Linked DNA regions of Homo sapiens: regions 1, 2 and 3 are each linked to region 4. Evidence: promoter capture Hi-C in human tissues and cell types (Jung and others, 2019). All regions are on one chromosome and are shown on one strand. The core of a region is centred on a gene start or on the middle of the fragment in contact, and the rest is flanking DNA. Distances in the headings are between cores, read along the strand shown.

Region 1 (3,247 bases), core at 666-3,165, 170 kb after region 4:
CTCCTCCTGCTAATCTGTCTTATGCCAATTTAATTTGTAGCCCAGCCAAGGAACCTAGAAGGGTAAAGTCATTTTTTGCTCCACTACACATATTATATTTCATGACTTAAAAATTTAAGCAATGTCAGCAAAATAGGGGTGGTCATTGAAAGCGTTAAACACACAGGGCCACCAGTGCACAGTGGCATGGGGAGCACATTGCACAATGCCAGTGGCATCACTTCCATGGACATCAATGATTCCAAAGGCAGGCAGCCAACCAGGGAAGTGCAGAGCCCATAAGAGACCCTGAAAAGCAGCTCCCAGAGAATGACCTTTCCTCTCTGTGGTCCTTGGCCAGGTCCCATAGCTCTCCCAAGCACACCTCCTGGATTTCCCATGGGAATGCCCAGATGCAGCTGGAATCAAAGCTACAGGTAGTCATTGCTCCAGGGCCCCTCCCAGGGAGAGAGCAAAGGATTTATAATGGACATGAGAGGCTTTGTCCTAAAAAAGACACTAAAATGAAGATGTAACCACAGGAGGGTCTTCTGTACTGGCCCTCTCCTTCTGCGGATGTGAAAACTGGAGGCGCAGAGACACATGTGGCCTCTTCTTGGTCAAGAGAGAGTTAATGTCCAGGCTTGAAGGAAGCCCTTCAAGGTTCTTCTCACATTGAAGTCAGGCTGTTCCCCTAGGATCCCTGTCCTCTTCATTTCTTATTCTAAATTTGTAGATTAACTCATGTTAATGATTCCTGATGGGTGGAAATGTTATTCTATTAACATATTTGCATAATGATAGGAACTTCAGTGCCTTAATGGGGGAAACTGAAGTCCCAGGGAGGGCCAGTGGAGCAGGAATTGGCGGCTCTTGGGGACTTTTGTACTTTTTGCTTATTTGAGAAAAGTCATGGATTCCCTCCCCAGAGAAGGTAACGTGAGCCCAAACTGTGGGCTATTTGAGGGGATTCACAGACCCCCTCCACCCTACCAACCCATCTAAGGCCCAGACTAATACCATGAGGGAAGCCAGACTCTTCCCCTCTGGCTTTAGCCCTGATGACTGCGTGCAGTGGTGACAAGGCACCCCATCATTTGATGGTGTTTGGGGAGACAGAAAGAGAAAGAGAGATTGAGAGAAAGATTATCTTCTGTAATTCATTAATAATAATGTTACCGAAGGTAGTTGGTCAGACATACGCAGGGCAGGAGAGAGCGCCCCTGGCCCCTACAACCCCAACCAGAAATATCAGGCAACAATCACTGATGGTCAAGCAGTGGTTAAACTGTTTCTCTAAAATAATAATTGGTTGCAGCCAGTGCCAGGGAAAAGCAGTATCCCCAATAGATAGAAACATCTGAAACTCATGATCAGCAGCTTCCGATAACATCTCAGGAGCTGGGCAAGTGGGTTCAAGCATGCACACTAAGAGGCAAAATGGTGGAGTTTAACTGGTCTATGACTCCTCCTAGGGACATCTGGTAAGAGAAGAATGCCTCAAGTGAGTATGTACACAACTCTAGTAAACACACAGCACATGTGGAACCCCCTCTCCCTGTAAGTGCTGGCAGCCACTGTGCATGCGGACAGCCCACCCCAAGGGAAGAATCAGGAGAGAAGGGACACGAGGCCCTGGAAGTATGCCAACATATAAAACCCTAAGTCAAAGGTCGAACTGTGCTCTTGAATCCCTCAAGTCACCCACTTGGCCCTCTTCCAAGTGTACTTTACTTCCTTTCATTCCTGCTCTAAAACTTTTTAATAAACTCACTCCTGCTCTAAAACTTGCCTCACTGTCTCCCTCTGCCTTATGCCCCTTAGCTGAATTCTTTCTTCTGAGGAGGCAAGAATTGAGGCTGCTGTAGACCCATGTGGATTTGCCACTGCTGAACAATAATACCAAGTAACAGCTGACCTTTCCTTGGTGCTCACTGGGAGCTGGGTATTATTTGAAGTACATAGCAGGAAAAGACTCACAACTCGAGGTTTGCAATTAGAAGCCTCCAAGGGCTCCCCCGAGCAGAGACCGTGGCATAACATGCCCACAGTCCTCAGGCCAGTGTTGAGAAAGGCCAAACCCTGTAAAATATTGTTAAATAGAACTAAATATGGCCTGAGAAAGCCTCCATACTTCCATACTTGAGTCCTTGAGGATGAACCGTAACCTAACTTAGTAAGCAGACGAGACTAGACACCTGATTTAGGAGGATGCTTCAGTGGCTGAGTCTCGGCCAATCTCAGCAGCCAGACTTTCACCACTCATAGGCTGCTGTTCAAACTGTGTTCAAATAAAAGCAAATGCCAAGTTGTAACCAATCCGGCTGCTTCTGAATCTCACTTCTGTTTTCTGTCCATCACTTTCCTTTTTTTAATCTATAAATTTGCTCTGACCAAGAGGCATCCCTGGAGTCTCTCTAAATCTGCTGTGATTCTGGAGGTTACCCGATTCAAGAATCATTCTTTTTTTTCTTTGCTCAATTAAACTCTGTTAAATTTAATTTGTCTAATGTTTTTCTATTAACAATGTTTAAAGAAGTTTATTCTGAGTCCAATATGAGTGACCATGGCTTGCACACAGTTTCAAGAAGTCCTGAGTACAAGTGCCTGAGGGGGTCGGGTTACAGCTTACATATATATATGTGTATATATATACGTATATATATTCTTCCCTTGGGGTGGGCTGTCCGCATGCACAGTGGCTGCCAGCACTTACAGGGAGAGGGGGTATCACATGTGCAGTGTGTTTACTACAGTTGTGTACATACTCACTTGAGGCATTCTTCTCTTACCAGATGTCCCTAGGAGGAGTCATAGACCAGTTAAACTCCACCATTTTGCCTCTTAGTGTGCATGCTTGAACCCACTTGCCCAGCTCCTGAGATGTTATATACGTATATACATATACACGTATATATACGTATATATACGTGTATGTATATATGTATATATACGTATATATACGTGTACATATATATACACACACACACACACACACACATATATATATGTGTGTGATGATGGGTCACTGCAACCTCTGCCTCCCAGGTTCAAGCTATTCTCCTGCCTCAGCCTCCTGAGTAGCTGGATTACAGGCATGCACCACCACACCTGTATAATATTTGTTTGGTTTGTTGTTGTTGTTGTTGAGATGGAGTTTCACTCCTGTTGCCCAGGCTGGAGTACAGTGATGTGATCTCGGTTTACTGCAACCTCCGCCCCCTGAGCTCAAGCAATTCTCCTGCCTCAGCCTCCCGAGTATTTGGGA
Region 2 (3,146 bases), core at 369-2,868, 150 kb after region 4:
CACACCACCCTTTCTCTACTTTCTCTCTTCTCTTCTCCCTCTCCCCCGCCTACCGAAGGTCACCTTCTCTGGTTTGAATGGGGCCTGCCTTTTAGAGCTTTAGGAAGAAAGCCTCAACACCCCCTTGAGTGGAATCTTTCTGCTTCCCTTCTGGGCTTTGCTAAGAAAACAAAATCTACGCTGTTGGAGTAGCTGCTGGAGGTGAGGAGGGGAAGAGTGAACGCCTTGAAGCCAGAGATCCTGCAGCTTTGCAGGGAGACATGAGTTTTCTCCTCCTGCACCATGGTGGCATCACAAGAGGGTTCGAGCCCTTCCAGACGGCAGACCTAGCACCAAGCACGCGGCTTGCATTGCCTCATTTATTCCTCATGACCATGCTATGAAGTAGGCATTAGTGTCATCCAGCTTTATGAATGAAGAATCTGAGTCAGAGAGAGGTTGAGGAACTTGCTCTTGGTCACACAGCCTGACTTCAGCCAAAATAGTCCAACCTCAGTGCCCACATGCTTCCCCTCCCTGCTAAACTACCAGCCAAAGACCACACTAAATGACAAGAGGCTGATGGGGGCTGAGTGGCTTCTGGCCTAGTCCCCCAGAAGAGGTGTCTTCTCCCACCAGAATTCTTTGAGAACTTGCAAGTTCTGGGAAGAAGTATCATTGGGAGAGGGAGGGAAACAGAGTCACATACATAAACAATGCAAGACAGCATGTGATTTGTGCATGTACAAGTTACAGAGGACAGGGCCTGGGAGCCCCGAGAGGGGAAGGAGCCTACAGGCCAAGTGACCAGGGGCCCCATGGGAGGGGAGGATGCTGCGCCTTCCCTATTATATTTGCCTCCCTAGGACATGCCATGCAGGCATTCTACCGGTGCAGTTGATGCCTCTCCAGGAAGGTCCTCAGGCACCAGACTTGTCCATGAAATCCATAGAAGAGGATGGACTCTGGTGGAGAAATCCTCCTTGAGCTTCATCACGGCCTCCACGGTGGAGGTCAGGCCCCTGAACAAGCCGCTCACTGGGCTTCTCAAGCCACTATGTCTCCACCCTGCATCCAGACAAGGCTTCATTTGATGCCCCCACCTCCCATCTTCCACCCTCCTTGTCGCCTTAGCTGTGCGAGATGCCCCAAAACCTGTCTGGCTCTTACACACGTGCCTGTCTGCAAGGGCAGGCTGTGAGATGCAGCTACAGGCTGTGGGCAGACAGTGCATGGCCCACGCCTGTGGCTCACCCTGCACATCGTGCCTGGAAGCTCCCTCTGAAAACACAAGGCTCAGCTTCCCCAGAGGTGGCCACACTATGCCAGGTCATTTAAACTGAGGGGCAAACTTTGAGAGAAGGAAAGAAAGAAGGAGCTGTGTGGATAAATTCCTCTTCTTTCCTCTCCCTAATGGATTGCTCCAAAGAGGACATTGCTAGGTGGTTTCTCTGGAGAATTCCAGCCTGACCAAGCAAAGGTGATTGGGAGGCTGTGGCCAGCACAATAACTCACCACCAACTTGCATTTGTTTTCCTCCACCCCTTTTCTCTTCCTTTCCTCCAAACGGTCTCACTCCCAGAATTACACTCCCTGAATTACACTCCCTGCAATAAAGCATTAACACATAAGTCCTGTAGGGACTCATATTCAGACTAGGATGGGAAGGTATCCAGGGAAATCGTAGATGGTAGCAATGTTGGGAAACGAAGGAGACCCATCTGCCACAGAAGCTTGTCCAGGTACAATTTCCAGCAGGCTGTTGGGATGGGTCAAGGAAGGCTTTGATGCTGAGCTCAGACACTTTGACTTCATTCTGTAGACCAGCGGGGAACACACTGGGTCGCCTGGACAAGAGGCTCACTTTCGGATTAAATGGGTCTCATGTTAGAGGGTGTCCCAGGTGGCTCAGATGTGCCCGACTTGGGCAGAATCACATCTTCAGGAGTAGAGGAGCCCTTTGTGCTTTTGAGCAAAGAAGTGCTGTGAACAGGACCGAATTTGAAAAAAGAGATGCAGACAGAGGGTTGAGTGGGAAGCTAAACCAGAGCCAGCAGTCCAGAGAGGAGCCTTGAGAACAGGCAGCCAGACCAACAGGCCACTTGAGGAAGACCCGTGGCCGAGGGGGCGGACCTGCAGGAGGAGCAAAACACAGAGCTGTTTCCACGGCCAACTGGGGTACTCGCCAGGAAGCCAGATGTCTGTGCTGGAAAATGTCCACACACAGCTGCTCCGAACCCAAGCCAGGGCCTGGCGGTGATGTGTAAAAGCAACAAAGACAGTGGGGCTGGACAGGGGCAGAAGGTCTTATGGTGTGATCTGGGGAGGAAACAGACACCTGGATCCTGGCCAGGTCATGAGAGTTCTATTACCCCATACTCTCCTCCAGGGTGGCTCACCTCTTGCCCACCACCCACTGGACTCAATACAACAGTTGTCTCTGTCTCAAGCCTGCAGGAAGGTAGCCAGATAGGAAGAAGATGCATGTGCTGCTGAGTGAAGATGGAGGAGCCAGAGCAGAAGGTGGGAGCTCCCCAGTCCCGAAGAAGGCAAGGGGACCACCCAGGCATGAAGACACCATCCCTGCGGAGGCCAGCTCCCCACACGCATCAGTGATCCCCCATCAGAAACGGCTCTGAACCCTCCCCTGTCTCCATCTCTCCCGCATTGCTATGGGTTGAATGCTTTTGTCCTCTCCAAAAAGTTATGTTGAAACTTAATCCCCAGTGCAACACTGTTGGGAGATCTGGCCTTTTGAGAGGGTTTGGGCCATGAGGATCTTTCCTCATGAATGGATTAACGTTGCTCTGAAAAGGGCTTGCAGGGTGGGTGGGGAATTCACTCTTTTTGCTCTTCTGCTATGTGAGGGCACATTGCTCATTCCCACTTTCCCTCCCACTGACTATGTGAGGACACAGCAAGAAGGCCTTCACCAAGTACTGGATGCTTGTGCCTTGATCTTGGACTTCCCAGCCTCCGGAACTGTGAGAAATAAATTTTCTGTTTTTTATATATTACGTGGCCTGTGGTATTTTGTTGTAGCAGCACAAATGGACTAACACACATGCTGTTCTGATCAAGCCTCACTAACCTGCACCCAGTCTGTCTATACCACATCCTTATTGGGATGCTCACCTTCTCTCCTCTTCTTCCCACTGCCATTGCAA
Region 3 (3,182 bases), core at 519-3,018, 190 kb after region 4:
AGCATGGTGGGCACCATAGGGACCTGGGTTGGGGGTGGTGGTGAGGGGGAACTTCCAAGCAGCCACTGCACTCTCCCTAATTTGTGGTAGCCTCAGTTTGGGTGGAGTTGATTCCACTCTCAACTCAGGGTTGGGAGTGGGCTCTGATCCTGCTCACTTTGCCATAGAGATGAGCTCAGAGACAGACAAAAACCCAGCCAGAGGCTAATCTTCACACAGAGTCTCCGTGGCCCCAGGGACTGGTTCATTGGAGGTATTGGTTCACTGGACTGATTCATTGATGAGGTATTCTGTGGCTTGATGTTTTGAGAAAGAGAAGCATCTGCCTACACTGAAGACAGCTGATGCACACACACACTTTTGCAGTCACCTGCCCACCATAAGATAAGTCAGCCTTTGCATGGAGAGGGAACAATAAAAAAACAGAATCACAGAGAAGTAGAGCTGGTTCCTTGACCAAACCATAATTGAAAATCATTTACTTCCAGATTATTCTTATTGTTATATTACCTGAGCTGGGATTTTTACTGCCCACAATGCAAAGCACCCCCAAATGAACTGTGCAGGGAGGGCAGATATTTATTTCATTTTAATAGATGAGCATGAAAGTTTCAAGTTCTTAACCAAATGGCACTGGAAACTGTATTAGTTCGTTTTCATGCTGCTGATAAAGATATACCCAAGACTGGGTAATTTACAAAGAAAAAGAGGTTTAATGGGCTCACAGTTCCAAGTGGCTGGGGAGACCTCATAATCATAGCAGAAGGTGAAAGGCACATCTTACACCATGACAAAAGAGAATAAGCACCAAGCGAAAGGGAAATCCCTTATAAAATCATCAGATCTTGTGAGACTTATTCACTACCATGAGAACAGTATGAGGGAAACTGCCCCTGTGATTCAATTATCTCCCACTGGGTCACTCCCACTACATGTGGGAATTATGGGAGCTAAAATTCAAGATGAGATTTGGGCAGGGACACAGCCAAACCATATCATTCTGACCCTGGCCTCTCCCAAATCTTACGTCCTCACATTTCAAAACAAATCATGCCTTCCCAACAGTCTTCCAAAGTCTTAATTCATTTCAGCAATAACTCAAAAGTCCACGGTGCCATTCCAAATGAGAGAAGTTGGCCAAAACAAAGGGGCTACAGGCCCCATGCAAGTCTGAAATCCAATGGGACAGTCAATGGGGCAGTCAAATCTTAAAGCTCCAAAATGATATCCTTTGATTCCATGTCTCACATCCAGGTCATGCTGCTGCAAAAGGTGGGTTCCCATGTCATGGGCAGCTCCACCCTCATGGCTTTGCAGGGTATAGCCTCCCTCCTGGATGCTTTCAAGGGCAGGTGTTGAGTGTCTGTGGTTTTTCTAGGCACACGGTGCAAGCTGTTGATGGATCTACCATTCTGAAATCTGAAGGACAGTGGCCCTCTTCTCATAGTTCCACTAGGCAGTGCCTCAGTGAGGACTCTATGTTCGGGACCCAACACCACATTTCCCTTCTGCACTGCCCTAGAAGAGATTCTTCATGAGGGACTCTCCCCTGCAGCAAACTTCTGCCTGGACATCCAGGCATTTCCATACATCTTCTGAAATCTACACAGAGGCTCCCTAACCTCAGTTCTTGACTTCTGTGTACCTATAGGCTCAACACAACATGGAAGCTGCCAAAGCTTGGTGCTTGCACCCTCTGAAGCCACAGCCCAAGCTGTAACTTGGACCCTTTTAGCCATGGCTGCAGTGACTGGGATGCAGGGCACTAAGTCTCTAGGCTGCACACAGCAGAGGGGACCTGGGCCCAGGCACGAAACCAATTTTTCCTCCTACATCTGTGGGCCTGTGATGGGAGGGGCTACCATAAAGGTCTCTGTCATGCCCTAGAGACATTTTCCCCATTGTCTTGGGGATTAACATTTGGCTCCTTGTTACTTATGCAAATTTCTGCACCTAGCTTGAATTTCTCCTTAGAAAATATTTTTTTTTCCTATTGCATAATCAGGCTGGAAATTTTTTGAACTGTTATGCTGTGTTTCTCTTTTAAAACTGAATGCCTTTAACAGCACTCAAGTCACCTCTCGAATGCTTTCCTGCTTAGAAACTTCTGCCAGATACCCTAAATCATCTCCCTCAAGTTCAAAGTTCCACAAGTCTCTAGGGCAGGGGCAAAATGCCACCAGTCTCTTTGCTAAAACTTAGCAAGAGTCACCTTTACTCCAGTTCCCAACACGTTCCTCATCTCTATCTGAGACCACCTCAGCCTGGATTTCATTGTCCTTATAATTATCAGCATTTTGGTCAAAGCCATTCAACAAGTCTCTAGGAGGTTCCAAACTTTCCCACATTGTCCTATCTTCTTCTGAGTGCTCCAAATTGTTCCAACCTCTGCCTATTACCAAGTTCCAAAGTTGCTTCCACATTTTTGGGTATCTTTACAAGAGCTCTCCACTCTATCAGTACCAATTTACTGTATTAGCCCATTTTCATGCTGCTGATAAAGATATACCTGAGACTGGGTAAGTTACAAAGAAAAAGAGGTTTAATGGACTCACAGTTCCACGTGGCTGGGGAGGCCTCACAATCCTGGCAGAAGGTGAGAGGCATGTCTTACGTGATGGCAGACAAGAGAGAATGCGAGCCAAGTAAAAAGGGGAAACCCCTTATAAAACCATTGGATCTCATGAGACTCATTCACTACCATGAGAACAATATAGGGGAAACTGCCCCCATGATTCAATTATCCCCCACTCTGTCCCTCCCACTACACGTGGGAATTATGGGAGCTACAATTCAAGATGATATTTGGATGGGGACACAGCCAAACCATACCAGAAACTATCAGAGATGGAAATCATCAAAGGTGTAGAACTGAAATTGATTTTTTTTCCTAATGGGTGGTAGGCAAAATTCTAACATGACCTCCACAATTGCCACCCCTTGTGTACATGGCCTGTACATCTCCCCTTGAATGTGACAAAATTTATGAATATGATGGGATGTCACTCCTGTGATTAGATGACACCATATGGCAAAAGTCAAGAAATTTTGTAGGTGTAGTTGAGGTTCAAACTAATTGATCTTGAGTTAATCAAAGGGAGTCTGCTCTTGATGTCATCTGGTGAACTCTTAAAAGAGACACAAAGTAGCAGATGTTCTCTTGCTGTCTGGGAAGGAAGTTC
Region 4 (3,318 bases), core at 422-2,921:
TCGGGTCCTCTGACCGGCTCACAGATCACCATAGCCACAGTGTGTGTAAGGCCTTCTCATGGAGCCCTGCAAACACCTCCCCGGGGAGGGGCTGTGGGACCCATCTTACAGATGAGGAGACCGAGGGTCGGAGAGGCCACACAACTCGGCCAGGACCCCGAGTTAGCAAGCGCTGGCCCCTGGTCCAGCCACGGCAAGGCTGGCCCTCCTGCCACCACACTTCCCTGCCTCTGGCCCTCTGCCGGGAGTCTTGGTGGGGAAGTCACTGTCTTCATCCTCCTGCCCGGGCAGAGTCCAATCCTGTGCCTGGCTCCTCAAGACCGTTGGCAAAGATCCTGGAGGCCTGGGGGTGAAAGGGCTGCTTGGGGGACTTAAGCCCCAAGCTATGGTTCGCCTGGGAGACTGAGCCCCAAGCCATGGTCCTCCTGGCTCTGCCCTTCCACCCCCTCACTGGCTGCCCCTCCCAGGGAGGCCTCACCTGTGAAGTGCTTCCCGCCCCTCTCACCCCCCACGGCTCTCACATGGCCTGGGGCGATTCCAGAGCTGGCCTGGGTCAAGCACCTGCACAGAGCACAGAGCGAAGGCTCGGCATGGTATATCCCCCGCCCCTTGCACCTTTCCCCAGTGAAGGGTGGCACCAGTGTCCTTTCCAAGGCCCGGATTCTGCACTGCCCTCAGCCTGTGGAGGATTAAAAGCAGGGTTTTGCCGTGGTTTCTCAAGGCGTCAGCGGGTCTGCAGAGGATTCCGCCCCATGTCACTTCTCTCAGTGAAAGGTCCCCGCCCAGCGTCTGTCCTCCTTTAAGTGCCCCCCATTTGTTTTTTGTTGTTGTTTTTGTTTGTTTTTTGCAAATACAGACTAACCAGGTAGGCACAGAGGAGTCCTGGCATGGGAAGGGAGCAGTGAAACGCCGGTGGAGAGTCCGGGAGGCCCAGATTCCCTGGAACTTTCCAGTGACTCCTCCGGAGCAAGGGCCTGGCCAGGCAGCAGCTGCGCTGGGCGATGAGGGACCGTTGGGTAATTGGGGGCATAGGACCGGGCTTCGCTGGGTTCGGGGCAGAAGCGCCGAAGCTCCGACCCGGAACGCGGTGACTTCATCAACGCAGAAGCCCGCGCAGCCGAGCAGAGGAGTCCCTCGTAGGCGACCCTCGGACAGACGCTCCTGCGCGGCCCGCGTGGCTCAGCTCCGCCCCAGGAAACTTTTCGCGCAGCCCCCGCTCCATGCGCCCCCACCCAGTCCTTCTTCGGGGCCGCCCCCTCCCCAAAGTAGCTCTCCGGGTCCACTGGGCGCCCCCGTAACCGGGTCGGAACCTCGAACGGCTTCGCGTGCCATCCGGTTACCCTGGCAACACCATCCGGCGGCGCCCGGCGGTCCAATCCTAGCCTGCGGCCTCTCTCGAGCCTTTCGCAAGGTGGGGACCGGGACGCGACCGGGGATGGGGAAGGGGGCTGCAGGAGGCCCCGCCTGCGCTGTCGCCCCTGCTGGGCACAGCGCCCCCCACCACCCGCGGCGACCCCGGCCCCCGCAAGGTGGGGCGGCGAGCAGGAGCCGGGGCCAGGCCAGGGGCTCGAGCTCCCGTTCGAGGGGCGGGGAAGGCGGGTGACGTGAGCCGGGCCGGGCGGGCGGAGTTGGGACCGGCTCCGGGAGGCGGGGGCGAGCGCGCGGAGAGGCAGACGCGAGGAGGGAGGCGGCTGAGCAGCGCGGGCGGCTCTGCGGCGGGCGCGGTGGGCGCGGGCGGCGGGGCCCCGGGATCCCCGCGCGCCTCCTCCGCGCGGCGCCGCCGCCGCGCGTCCCCACGCCCCGCGCTCCACGGCGCCCTCGCCCCGCGCGCCTCTCGTGCCCGCCTCCTGCCAGTCTCCGGGCCGCGGCCGTCTGCAGAGCGAGCGCTCAGACGGAGCCCCCGGGCAACTTGAGTGGCGCCGATCGGCGGCGGAGCCTCTGGCAGAGCCCCCCGACCCGGCAGCGCGGAGGGGACTCGCGTCCGTCCGCGTCGCGTCACCCCAAACCCTAAGCAGCGCCGCCCCATCGGCGCGGAGCTCCGGCTGGAGGCAAGAGCCGCGCGCCGGGAGACACGCACCGTGAGCGGCAGCGCCGCCGGCCTCCCTCCTCGCCGCCCCGGAGGGCGAAGCCGCGGCTCCCCAGCCCTTTGCTGCGCCGCGACAGCGCCGGAACACGCCCCGCCTCGCTGCCGCCTTCGCTGTGCCGCCGGCGGAGGGGGCCGCGAGCCCCGCGCCCCGGCCGGAGGATGTGCGCCCCCGCGGGCCGCCCAGCCTGAGCCATGCGCCCCAACGGCGGCGGCGCGCCGGCCGGCATGGAGCCCCGCGCGGCCGCGCTCTGACTCGCTGTGCGCCCCGCGGCCGGCGGGCGGCGGGAGGCGGCGGACCGAGAGCCGGAGACCGGCGCCGCGGGACGGAAGCGAGCGGGCGCGGGCGCCGCGCAGATGGCCTGGGCGAGCCAGGTCTGAGGCCCCGCTCCCCGAAACGTGACCATGTGGATTCAACAGCTTTTAGGACTCAGGTGAGCGACCCGGCCGGCGCCGGGTGCGTGTGGGCGCGTGGGTGCCAGGCTGGGCGGAAGCGGCGCTTTCCTCTATGTTGCAAATCAAGGGACCCCTCTTCGCTTCCCGCAAGCGGGCAACGGGGTGCACCGGTAGCCGGAAAGGGGCGCCCGCCCGGAGCCTGGAGCAGCACCGCGGCCCTGGCGGGGAGCGGCCGGGTCTCCAGGGTTCCGCGCGTCCGGGGTCGGGGCAGCGGCGCCCGCCCCAGCAACCCGGGAAGTGGGGCCGGCCAGGCGCGCCCGCAGCTCTAGGAGCCAGCAGCGCAGTGTCCTGGCCGGCTGCCCCGGCGCGCCTCCTCCCCGGGGCCCGGGGCGAGGCGCCGGCCGCTGGGCGCGGCGGGCGCGGGGGCCGGGGCTGCCGGGGAAAGCTAAAGCTCCGGGCTCCCAGCGAGAGCTTCGCAGGCGGAGTTGGAGGAAACCACAGCCAAACAGCCACTCCGCTCCCCCTTCTCCTTTCTCGGGGCCCCGGGGCTGAGCAGGGGCCTCCCAGGCTCCCAGCTGCCGACCCAGCTGTTTGCGGGTGACCTCCGGGCCCGACGGGCGCTCACAGCTGGCGGGCAGCTGGGGCGGGAGAGCTGGGGTTCTTGGGGAGCTCCGGCGGCCACCCCGCTGTAAACACACACGCACATACGCCCGCCGGCGCGCCCGGGGCTTGTCTGTGTCTGGGACTCCAGGGCCAGATGGAAGAGGGGGTTCGAGCCTAGAGCCCGTGGTGGGGGTGTCCAGAAAGACCCTTCTCGGCAAACTTTGCCAGCCCGCCGG

Evidence for each region. The method cuts DNA at HindIII sites, captures the fragments that hold promoters and counts their contacts. A contact is called where the count stands out against the background at its distance.
Region 1: a contact is called between a fragment that was not itself captured here and the fragment with the promoter of AJAP1 in region 4, in 4 of the 25 tissues and cell types used here (H1 embryonic stem cells, dorsolateral prefrontal cortex, neural progenitor cells and 1 more).
Region 2: a contact is called between a fragment that was not itself captured here and the fragment with the promoter of AJAP1 in region 4, in 2 of the 25 tissues and cell types used here (dorsolateral prefrontal cortex and hippocampus).
Region 3: a fragment that was not itself captured here is called in contact with the fragment with the promoter of AJAP1 in region 4 in 2 of the 25 tissues and cell types used here (liver and spleen).

Annotation. Positions count from the first base shown.
Region 1 is chr1:4,820,615-4,823,861 of GRCh38, forward strand. No RefSeq gene overlaps it. Among named protein-coding and RNA genes, the nearest start is that of LINC02781, 150 kb to the right of the region's middle. RefSeq lists an enhancer at 451-1,041. The HindIII fragment of the contact is 6,733 bases long and covers 1-3,247 here.
Region 2 is chr1:4,799,562-4,802,707 of GRCh38, forward strand. No RefSeq gene overlaps it. Among named protein-coding and RNA genes, the nearest start is that of AJAP1, 150 kb to the left of the region's middle. The HindIII fragment of the contact is 9,800 bases long and covers 1-3,146 here.
Region 3 is chr1:4,838,166-4,841,347 of GRCh38, forward strand. No RefSeq gene overlaps it. Among named protein-coding and RNA genes, the nearest start is that of LINC02781, 130 kb to the right of the region's middle. The HindIII fragment of the contact is 6,638 bases long and covers 1-3,182 here.
Region 4 is chr1:4,652,938-4,656,255 of GRCh38, forward strand. It overlaps AJAP1 (adherens junctions associated protein 1), which reads left to right and starts at 1,672. Exons shown (of 6, transcript NM_018836.4): 1 at 1,672-2,517. The coding sequence starts at 2,489. The HindIII fragment of the contact is 14,001 bases long and covers 1-3,318 here.